3 separate regions of the Homo sapiens genome follow, and all the other regions are linked to region 1. The links are contacts of gene promoters, found by promoter capture Hi-C in human tissues and cell types (Jung and others, 2019). All regions are on one chromosome and are shown on one strand. Each heading gives the region's core, a stretch centred on a gene start or on the middle of the fragment in contact. The rest is flanking DNA. Distances are from core to core; before and after follow the strand shown.

Evidence for each region. The method cuts DNA at HindIII sites, captures the fragments that hold promoters and counts their contacts. A contact is called where the count stands out against the background at its distance.
Region 2: a contact is called between a fragment that was not itself captured here and the fragment with the promoter of PPM1G in region 1, in 2 of the 25 tissues and cell types used here (lymphoblastoid cells and pancreas).
Region 3: a contact is called between the fragment with the promoter of PREB here and the fragment with the promoter of PPM1G in region 1, in 1 of the 25 tissues and cell types used here (adrenal gland).

Annotation. Positions count from the first base shown.
Region 1 is chr2:27,407,743-27,411,123 of GRCh38, reverse strand. PPM1G (protein phosphatase, Mg2+/Mn2+ dependent 1G) reads left to right here and starts at 1,533. Exons shown (of 10, transcript NM_177983.3): 1 at 1,533-1,821. The coding sequence starts at 1,702. RefSeq lists silencers at 1,363-1,552, 1,643-1,832, 1,903-1,952, 1,973-2,052. The HindIII fragment of the contact is 26,119 bases long and covers 1-3,381 here.
Region 2 is chr2:27,107,524-27,110,904 of GRCh38, reverse strand. All of the region lies in intron 1 of CGREF1 (cell growth regulator with EF-hand domain 1), which reads left to right. All of the region lies in intron 1 of LOC124907744 (a long non-coding RNA gene), which reads right to left. Among named protein-coding and RNA genes, the nearest start is that of CGREF1, 9.9 kb to the left of the region's middle. The HindIII fragment of the contact is 5,398 bases long and covers 1-3,381 here.
Region 3 is chr2:27,132,970-27,136,350 of GRCh38, reverse strand. It overlaps PREB (prolactin regulatory element binding), which reads left to right and starts at 1,715. Exons shown (of 9, transcript NM_013388.6): 1 at 1,715-2,064; 2 at 2,630-2,819; 3 at 3,014-3,234. The coding sequence starts at 1,930. RefSeq lists enhancers at 1,777-1,826, 1,302-1,958 and a silencer at 1,897-1,996. The HindIII fragment of the contact is 4,836 bases long and covers 563-3,381 here.

The sequences.
Region 1 (3,381 bases), core at 284-2,783:
CACCCTGCGTGGTACCACCTTACTCCCAGCTCTTCTCATCTCCTGCTTAGAGTAAGAGCTCTCTAACTAGTAGCAGTGCCCCAGGCCAGGCGCGGTGGCTCACGCCTGTAATCCCAGCACTTTGGGAGGCTGAGGCGGGTAGATCACGAGGTCAGGAGTTCGAGACCAGCCTGGCCAACATGGTGAAACCCCGTCTCTACTAAAAATACAAAAATTAGCCAGGCGTGGAATCCTAGCTACTCGGGAGGCTGAGGCAGGAGAATCGCTTGAACCTGGGAGGCGGAGGTTGCAGTGAGCCAAGATAGCGCCACTGCACTGCAGCCTGGGCAACAAGAGCGAAACTCTGTCTTAAAAAAAAAACAATAGTAGGCGGGGTGCGGTGGCTCACGCCTGTAATCCCAACACTTTGGGAGGCCGAGGCGGGCGGATCACGAGGTCAGGAGATGGAGACCATCCTGGCTAACACGGTGAAACCTCGTCTCTACTAAAAATACAAAAAATTAGCCAGGCGTGGTGGCGGGCGCCTGTAGTCCCAGCTACTCGGGAGGCTGAGGCAGGAGAATGGCGTGAACCCGGGAGGCGGAGCTTGTAGCCTGGGCGACAGAGCGAGACTCTGTCTCAAAAACAAACAAAAAACAACAACACAACAGTGCCCCAGACTCTCTCCCTCCAATGTACACTGCATACAAAGACTAGACAAACGATGCCAAAGGTTACACCAGGACGACAATGAAGTCCAAGTCACTCATCTTGGCGCTTCTTTTTATCAAGCTAGCTAGTTAATATTACCACTTACAATCATTCTCCGAGTCCAGCCAGCTTCCTCAGAAATCCTCCCCAAATGCAGTTCACATTCTTCCCTCACTCCTCCAAACCTTATAACATTATTCCCTTTTCCTGTGGCATAATGCAATCCAGAGGCATCCTCTCTGAGAGCCTACATCCTTTCAATCCTCCAAGAAACAGCTCCTCCTCCCATCCTTGAGCTTTTCCCACCCAGAATAGGCTGTACCAAACATTTCTACATTGTATTAACTCGAATTATATCACAGATCGAGGTCTTCGCTTTCAGAAAAGACTCACATTCTTCTCATATAGGCCTCGCATGGCCTGGCCAAGTACTTCCTAAGCTCGGAACAAATACTGGTCAACTTTAATTGAACCAAATCGGGCGGGGTTTGCGGAGTCTGAGAGTGCAACGTTGGGGAGAGGGGGATGAAAACACTGGAGGACGGGCTGAAAGCGTCGAGTCCGACACAAAAGAGGCGTCAGACAAAACGCCAAGAGGCTGGGGACTGGGAACGAAGGAAGAGGTTCTGCCAGAGGCGACCTGCCACCTGCGCGAGGAAGCGGAGTAGGACGGCGGCCGTTGGTGGGCGTGGTCGCGCTAGTCTCGCGGGAGCGGCCGTTGGGCGGGCCGTTGTCCCTGCGGGCGGGGCGAGTTGCTAAGGAAATGACTGCCCGCAGCGCCTGGCCCCGCCGCGCAGGCCGGGCGGGGTCTGGAGCGGCGCCGTTTCCGCTTCCGCTCCCTCACAGCTCCCGTCCCGTTACCGCCTCCTGGCCGGCCTCGCGCCTTTCACCGGCACCTTGCGTCGGTCGCGCCGCGGGGCCTGCTCCTGCCGCGCGCACCCCCGGGGCTTCGGCTCCGGCACGGGTCGCGCCCAGCTTTCCTGCACCTGAGGCCGCCGGCCAGCCGCCGCCATGGGTGCCTACCTCTCCCAGCCCAACACGGTGAAGTGCTCCGGGGACGGGGTCGGCGCCCCGCGCCTGCCGCTGCCCTACGGCTTCTCCGCCATGCAAGGCTGGCGCGTCTCCATGGAGGTGAGGAGGCAGGGGCCCATAGGCTGGCCGCTGCGGGGCGGGAATCTGACGGAGAAAGAGAGCGGGGGATGGGGTCCTCCCCTGGGAAGGGTCCCAATTGGGAGCCTGCGGCCGCAGCGGCCGTTTGCGGGGCGACAGAGACCGCGGGGTCAGGGCCGAGAGGGAGCTCCCGATGCTTGGGGACCGTGTGCCGGTGGCCAGTGGCGGCGAGGGCTCGGCCATGTGGGAAGAGGCACCTTCCGCCCACTGACCGCCCTCTCCCCGAGCTTTGGCGCCATCCTCTCGTGCCAACCTAGCCCTCCAGGCTCATCAACGGTGTGAGGTTTAGTGTGGGAGTAAAGACGCAAATAGGGGCTATTTATTCATTTGTTTTTCAAGGGAGAGGTGAATAGATGTGAATAACTTTTTAAATTTTAATATTTAAAATATCTGATGTGGGAAGCCTCTTTTGGCTAGGAGTTTGACAGTGAAAGGAACCCCGGGCAGAGTCTGTTTCACATTTTGGTTGCCTGGCCTTGGGCTCTTGCATGTTAATTTCAGAGGCTGGACCCGACCTCCAGGAGTTGTCACTCATTTGCACTCTTTTCAGGGCCTTTTACTAACTTCGGAAAACTTGAATTATGTCAGTCCCTAGGTTTTCCTTTTTATTATGCTTCGTTTTCTTTCTCTCTTAGGATTTCTCTAAAACTTAATCAGTAATTCTCATTTGCCTGTAATTGTAGTTTATAGTTTCTTTGATTGTAAGTCATTTCATCAATTTTTTTCATCACAACCTACCTACAAAGGGCTTTTCTAGAAAATTTTACTCTGGACAAAAGGGGAAAAGAAAAATATTGGGGGGAAAGTAGTAGTATTAGGTAAAACTTGATGTGAAACTACAAAAGAGAAGAGGGAAAACTGCGGTAGGGAGGAAAGGGAGGAAGACGGGTTAACCGTGGCTTTGTGAAGAGCATTCTGAAGTCTAGGCAAAAGGGCCAGGGAAATACTCTGTCTGGTATTGAGGGTTTCTCCACCTACCGGGTGGGCTTCAGGTAACAGCGAAATACTGTCTCCCTTGGGAATTGTTTCAGATCCCTCGCTCCTCCCTGTGGTTAGCTCTGGAATGACAGTATGAACTTAAATGTTTTGTTTTCCGATTCAAATTTTATATTCATAACTGACCTTAATAACAATTTTATAATTAGGTATAAAATTTCAGGATTGGAGTGTATCCTATAGTTCATCTCATCTGCTTTGGCTCCCTTTTTTTTTTTTTGAGACAGAATTTCGCTCTTGTTGCCCAGGCTGGAATGCAATGGCGCGATCTCGGCTCACCGCAACCTCCGCCTCCCAGGTTCGAGCAATTCTCCTGCCTCAGCCTCCCTAGTAGTTGGGATTACAGGCATGTGCCACCACGCCTGGCTTATTTTGTATTTTTAGTAGAGACAGGGTTTCTTCATGTGGGTCAGGCTGGTGTTGAACTCCTGACTTAGGTGATCTGCCTGCCTCGGTCTCCCAAAGTGCTAGGATTACAGGCATGAACCACCACACCCTGCGGCTCCCACATTTTATAGCTAAGAA
Region 2 (3,381 bases), core at 600-3,099, 300 kb after region 1:
ACCTTAAGAGCTGTAACACTCACTGCGAAGGTCCGCAGCTGCATTCCTGAGCCAGCGAGACCACAAACCCACCAGAAGGAAGAAACTTCGAACGCATCCGAACATCAGAAGGAACAAACTCCAGACACGCCGCCTTTAGGAACTGTAACACTCAACCGCGAGGGTCCGCGGCTTCATTCTTGAAGTCAGTGAGACCAAGAACCCACCAATTCCGGACACACTGGGATTACAGGTGTGAACCACAACACCTGGCTCTCTTTGTTCCTAATTGAAATTGCCAAAGGTTTGTCTGTTTTACTAGGCTTTTGTTTCTTTGTATATATATATTTTTTATTTTACTAGTCTTTTTAAAGAAACCACCCTTGTTTGGCTCTGTTGCTTCTCTTTATTGTGTTTTTAATTTCTGCTATTATTTCATTTATTTTAATTTCTTTAAGTGTAGTCTCTTTTATTAGTGCTGTTTTTGTTATTTTTGGGTTTGTGTGTGTGTGTGTGTGTATTTTTTTGGAGATAGTCTGACTGTCACCGAGGCTGGAGTGTAGTGGTATAATTGCAGCTTACTACTGCCTCAATGTCCCACGTTCAAATGTTCTTCCCACCTCAGCCTCCCTAGTAGCTGGATCTACAGATGTATGTCACCACACCCAGCTAATTTTTTTAAAAATTATTTTCTGTAGAGACAGGGTGTTGCCCAGGCTGGTCTCAAACTCCTGGGCTCAAACAGAGACTATGTTGCCCAGGCTGGTCTCAAACTCCTGGGCTCAAGTGATCCTCCCACCTCGGCCTCCCAAAGTGCTGGAATTACAGGCATTAGCCACACACCCAGCCTTTACTTTTTATTTCTTCTTTTTCATCTTTTCCTGCTTTTATTTCTTCTTTTTCTGCCTTTCTTTTAGTTCAGTTTTTAAAATTCCATTAATTTTTTTCTACTGGTTTGAGGCTATACATTCCAGTTCTAATTTTTTAATGGTTATCCTTAAAATTTTAACATGCTTTTTTTTTTTTTTTTTTTTTTTTTTGAGACGGAGTCTTCCTCTTGTTGCCCAGGCTGGAGTGCAATGGTGTGATCTCGGCTCACCACAACCTCCGCCTCCCAGGTTCAAGCGATTATCCTGCCTCAGCCACCCAAGTAGCTGGGATTACAGGCATGCACCACCTTGCCCAGCTAATTTTGTATTTTTAGTAGAGACAGGGTTTCTCCATGTTGGTCAGGCAGATCTTGAACTCCCAACCTCAGGTGATCCGCCCACCTCGGCCTCCCAGAGTGCTGGGATTACAGGCGTGAGCCACCGCGCCCAGCCTTAACATGCATATTTAACAAAGTTCATCAATATGTCCACTCTCTTCCCAAACAGCCATCTTTGCTTTACATGTCATTGTCCAATATTGTAGTTCAGACCAGCTTTTTTGCCTCATATATTAACATAATTAGCATTGTTTAACAGTCTATGTCTGTTTAGATTTAGCCACATACTTTGTGATTTCTTTGCTCCACATGTTTTCTTGCATTTCAAACCCTTTTTTTTTTTTTTTAAGACAGGGTCTTGCTCTGTTGCCCAGGCTAGATTACAGTGGTGTGATCAGAGCTCACTGCCTCCTTCACCTCTTGGGCTCAAGCGATCCTACCACCTCAGCTTCCTGAGTAGCTGGGACTACAGGCACACCCCACCATGCCCGGCTAATTTTTTCCTATTTTTTGTAGAAATGGAGTCTCACTATATTGCCCAGGCTGGTCTTGAACTCCTGGGCTCAGGAGATCCTTCCACCTCAGCTTCCCAAAGTGCTGGGATTACAGGCACGAACTCATATCCAGCTGAATTTCCTTTAATGAAGGAATGTTAGTGGCAAATTCTCTAAGTTATTTGCCTAAAATTGTTTTTACAAGGTAGGAGGATTGCTTGCACCCAAGACCAGCCTGGGCAACAAAGTTGAGACCCTGTCTCTACCAAAAAAAAAAAGCTGGGCATGGTGGCACATTCATGTCGTCCCAGCTACTTGTGAGGCAGGAGTGGGAGAATTGCTATGATCATGCCAGGAGTTCCAGCCTGGGCAACAGAGTGAGACCCTGTCTCTAAATAAATAAATAAATAAATTTGCTTCACCTCATTCTGCAAGATAATTTTGCTGAGAATAGAATTCTAGAATATCAATTTTCTCCCCTCTCTGAACACATTAAAATACTATATTACTGTATTTGGGCATCATTGATGTCAAGAAATCAGCTATCAGTCTAATTACTTTTCCTATGAGATGATTTGTCTTTTCTTTCTGACTGCTTTTACAATTTTTTTTTTCTTGAGTGTTCTATTTTAGAAAAATAGGTCTAGGTGAGAATTTCTGTTTATTTAATCTGCATTGAATTGTTGGGCTTCCTGGATTGGCATATTCCAGTGTTTTGCAACCTACTGGAAAAATGTCAGCTATTATTTCTTCAAATACTGCTTTTTTCCAGTTGTATCTCTTATCTTCTCCATCCACCTTGCCACTTAACCTCTGTTTTATATTTTCTATGTCTTTGACTCAATGAACTGCACTCTGGATAATTTATTCAGATCTATTTTCCAGTTCATTAACTCTCATATCAGTTGTGTCTAATCAATTTAACTCACCCGTTGCATTTTTATTTTTATTTTTTATTTTATTTATTTTTTTAAGACAGTCTCACTCTGTCGCTCAGGCTGGAGCGCAGTGGGGTGATCTTGGCTCACTGCAACCTCCGCCTCCTGGGTTCAAGCGATTCTCCTGCCTCAGCCTCCCGAGTAGCTGGGATTACAGGCGTGTGCCACCAAGCCCAGCTAACTTGTGTATTTTTAGTAGAGACGGGGTTTCACCATGTTGGCCAGGCTGGTCACCCATTGCATTTTTAAAATCAATCTTTTATTTCTAAAAGTTATGTTTGTTTCCTCTTCAAATCTACTTGGTCATTTTTATGCTCTTATTTCTTTCTTTCTTTCTTTTTTTTTTTTTTTTTGAGACAGAGTCTCGCTCTGTGGCCCAGGCTGGAGTGCAGTGGCATGATCTCAGCTCACTGCAACCTCTGCCTCCCAGGTTCAAGTGATTCTTCTGCCTCAGCCTCCCGAGTAGCTGGGATTACAGGTGCCCACCACCACGCCTGGCTAATTTTTTGTATTTTTAGTAGAGACGGGGTTTCACCATGTTGGCCAGGATGGTCTCAATCACCTGACCTCGTGATCCACCAGCCTCAGCCTCCTAAAGTGCGGGGACTACAGGCATGAGCCACCACACCCGGCCTCTTTTTTTTTTTTTTAAAACATACTGTTGCTGGCCGGAAAACTCTTATTTCTTCCTCATAGTTTCAAGCTTCCCTTTAATTTCTTAAAACATGTGAACTGGCCGGGTGCGGTGACTCATGCCTGTAAT
Region 3 (3,381 bases), core at 466-2,965, 270 kb after region 1:
CCATCTCTACTAAAAATACAAAAATTAGCTGGGTGTGGTGGCGGGTGCCTGTAGTTCCAGCTACTCAGGAGGCTGAGGCAGGAGAATCACTTCAACCTGGGAGGTGGAGGGTGCAGTGAGCTGAGATCAGGCCACTGCACTCCAGACTGGGCAACAGAGCGAGACTCCGTCTCAAAAAATAAAAAAGACCCTGGAGGGTGGTGTCAAAGGAAACGGAGAGGCCAGAAAGAGCAGGTGCCATGTATCCAAGGAGGACAAGGGACCCACAAGGCCTGGGGACTTGAGATATGCAGAGAGCTTGGCCAGGCCCTTCACACATCTAATTCAACTCTGTGGGACAGATATTGGCATCCCCAAAGATGAAGCCACTGCGCTATTCCTCTGGGTGCACCTTAGGTTAATGAGAATGCAGGAGAGGGCGTCTCTTTGCAGGGAAGGACATCCCTTGTGCTCGCTCTCAGGAGTGCACAAAGGTCCTCATCAGATCAGAAACCCGAGGGAGAATGGAGTGTCAGGCGCAGAAGATACCTGCCCGGGAGCCAAACTGCCCCCTCTGAGGCCAGCAAAGCAGCTGGCCACCCACCAAGCCACCAGCCCAGGAGTGTGAAGCCTTGAGAAAGGGAATGGCAGACACCACCCCTGCCAAAAGTGGGCGATAGGCGTTAAGGATGACAGACGTGTCCTCATACGAGGAAGCAATGGATTCAGCATTTGAAGTCAGGTTTATTTTTAAGTTCATGCTGCCTCCGTTAAGAAGCAAGAGACTCCGGTGGTTTCTGGTGTGTGCCCTCGGGCAAATCACTTCCTCTCTGAGGTAAGATGCAAAGGCCTGTGCTCCTAGGAGTTGGCATATCACTCCTCAGATGGGAACAGTCCTTATTTGAGGATTTTATGTGTGTGAGAGACAGGGTCTAGCTCTGTTGCCCAGGGGCTGGAGTGCAGTGGTGACATCACTGGTGGTCCAGCGCAGCCTCGACCTCCCAGTCTCAAGTGATCCTCCCGCCTGAGCCTCCTGGGCACCTGGGCCCACAGGTGCCACGATGTTTGGCTAATTTTTAAATATTTCGTAGGGACGGATCCCCATGTTGCCCAGGCTGTCTCGAAAGCCTGGGCTCAAGCCATCCTCCTCTCTCGGACTTTCCGAAAGTGTTGGGATTACAGGAGGATTACAGGCATGAACCACCGTGCCTGGCAGAGGATTTTTTTTTTTTTGAGACGGAGTTTCACTCTTGTTGCTTGTTGCCCAGGCTGAAGAGCAATGGCAATGGCGCGATCTCGGCTCACTGCAACCTCTACTTCCCAGGTTCAAGTGATTCTCCTGCCTCAGGCTCCCGAGTAGCTGGGATTACAGGCGCACGCCACCACGCCCTTTGTATTTTTGGTAGAGACGGGGTTTCTCCATGTTGGTCAGGCTGGTCTCGAACTCCTGATCCGCCCGCCTAGGACTCACAAAGTGCTGGGATTACAGGCGCGAGTCGGATTTCTTTATTAAAGGTTGACCTTCATCAACCTCCATTGGCTCCACCTCCTCCGCCCGCGCCCCGCGCCCCGCACAAAAATGGCGAAGTCGGTGCTGGGCGACTCTGCCTCCGCGCCAGGGGTGGAGAACCGAAGCCCCGCCCCGGGAAACGCGGCCCCGCGGCCGGCTAGTGCTGACGCGTGTCGGCGCTCCTGCGCCTGCGCGGAGGGAGCCGCGAGACAGGTGCGCATGCGCAGTGCGCGTCTGCGAGACCGACTTGGACGGAGCCGAGCTGAGGCTCGGCTTCCTGCTGATGGTCAGGGTTTTGGCAACTCCCCGGTGTGAGAGGGGTAGGGAGTGCTCCCGGCGGCGACGGGGCCGAGTTCACCAGCCGCCGGGGCAGTAGTCGAAGGCCCGGCGCGGCATGTCCTGGGTGCCGCGGTGCGGGCAGTGAACGCGCGCCGGGCGGGATGGGCCGGCGCCGGGCGCCAGAGCTGTACCGGGCTCCGTTCCCGTTGTACGCGCTTCAGGTCGACCCCAGCACTGGGCTGCTCATCGCTGCGGGCGGAGGAGGCGCCGCCAAGACAGGCATAAAGAATGGCGTGGTGAGAGCGCAGGGCCACTGGGGCTGGGTCTTGCTGCGGGCTGGCGGCGATTCCAGGGTGGCCGGGGGGTCGCGGGGCGGGCCACACTCCAGCTTCGGGCCCTGCCCACTTCTGTTGGGAAGACCCGCTTGCCTGACGCCCAGGGGCGAATTTCAGTCGAGAACTCAGCGGGCGGAGGAGAGGCTTTTAAGGTAAAGTGAAAACTGCACACAGCTGCAGAGTCGCCAGGAACGCTTCAGCTCCGCCTCAGAGCAGCTCCAGGGGTCTTATACTGGCCTTTTCCGGGAGGTCTTGCCTGCCCTCTAGCAGCGGCGAGAGTGGTGCATTTGGGTTTAGGCTAAGTTCCTTCCCTCTCCTGAGCTTCACCCTGTTCTGTAAAATAGAGGTAATAATCCCAGTCCTGCTCACTGTGTAGATTTGTGAGGCCCAAATGAGAGAAAAAAGACTCGAGAAACCCTTGTGAACTAGAACGTGCAGAAAGCAAAGGGGTAAGACATCAGACTCTTCCCTAAACGTGCTCTCTGGGCACCCCTGAACTTGCTCATCCGGGTTCCCCCTCCCACAGCACTTTCTGCAGCTAGAGCTGATTAATGGGCGCTTGAGTGCCTCCTTGCTGCACTCCCATGACACAGAGACACGGGCCACCATGAACTTGGCACTGGCTGGTGACATCCTTGCTGCAGGGCAGGATGCCCACTGTCAGCTCCTGCGCTTCCAGGCACATCAACAGCAGGGCAACAAGGCAGAGAAGGCCGGTGAGGAGCTCCCTCTCTACCCCCTTGGGGAAAGGGTTGAACGAGTAAGGTCACTCTTGGTGTCTCTAAAGAAGTGGGTCTGGAAGTAGGGTTTTGGTAGCAAGCTAGAAGTTGTATGGGCACCTGCCATGGAGAGAGGGGCCAGTACTCCTTACTGTAGAAGCCTGGAACCTGGCCAAGTGTTTGTGTTACAGGTTCCAAGGAGCAGGGGCCTCGACAAAGGAAGGGAGCAGCCCCAGCAGAGAAGAAATGTGGAGCGGAAACCCAGCACGAGGGGCTAGAACTCAGGGTAGAGAATTTGCAGGCGGTGCAGACAGACTTTAGCTCCGATCCACTGCAGAAAGTTGTGTGCTTCAACCACGATAATACCCTGCTTGCCACTGGAGGAACAGATGGCTACGTCCGTGTCTGGAAGGTGTGGGTTTGCAGGGTTAGGGAGGGTGAATGTCAGTAGCAACAGGATCAAAATTGTGAGAAGTTGAACGTGGCATCTGGGAAACTTGTGAATGAAGCTTGCATTGAGGGGCCATTAGAAGGGGTGGCGTGGGCATCAGTCACAGTG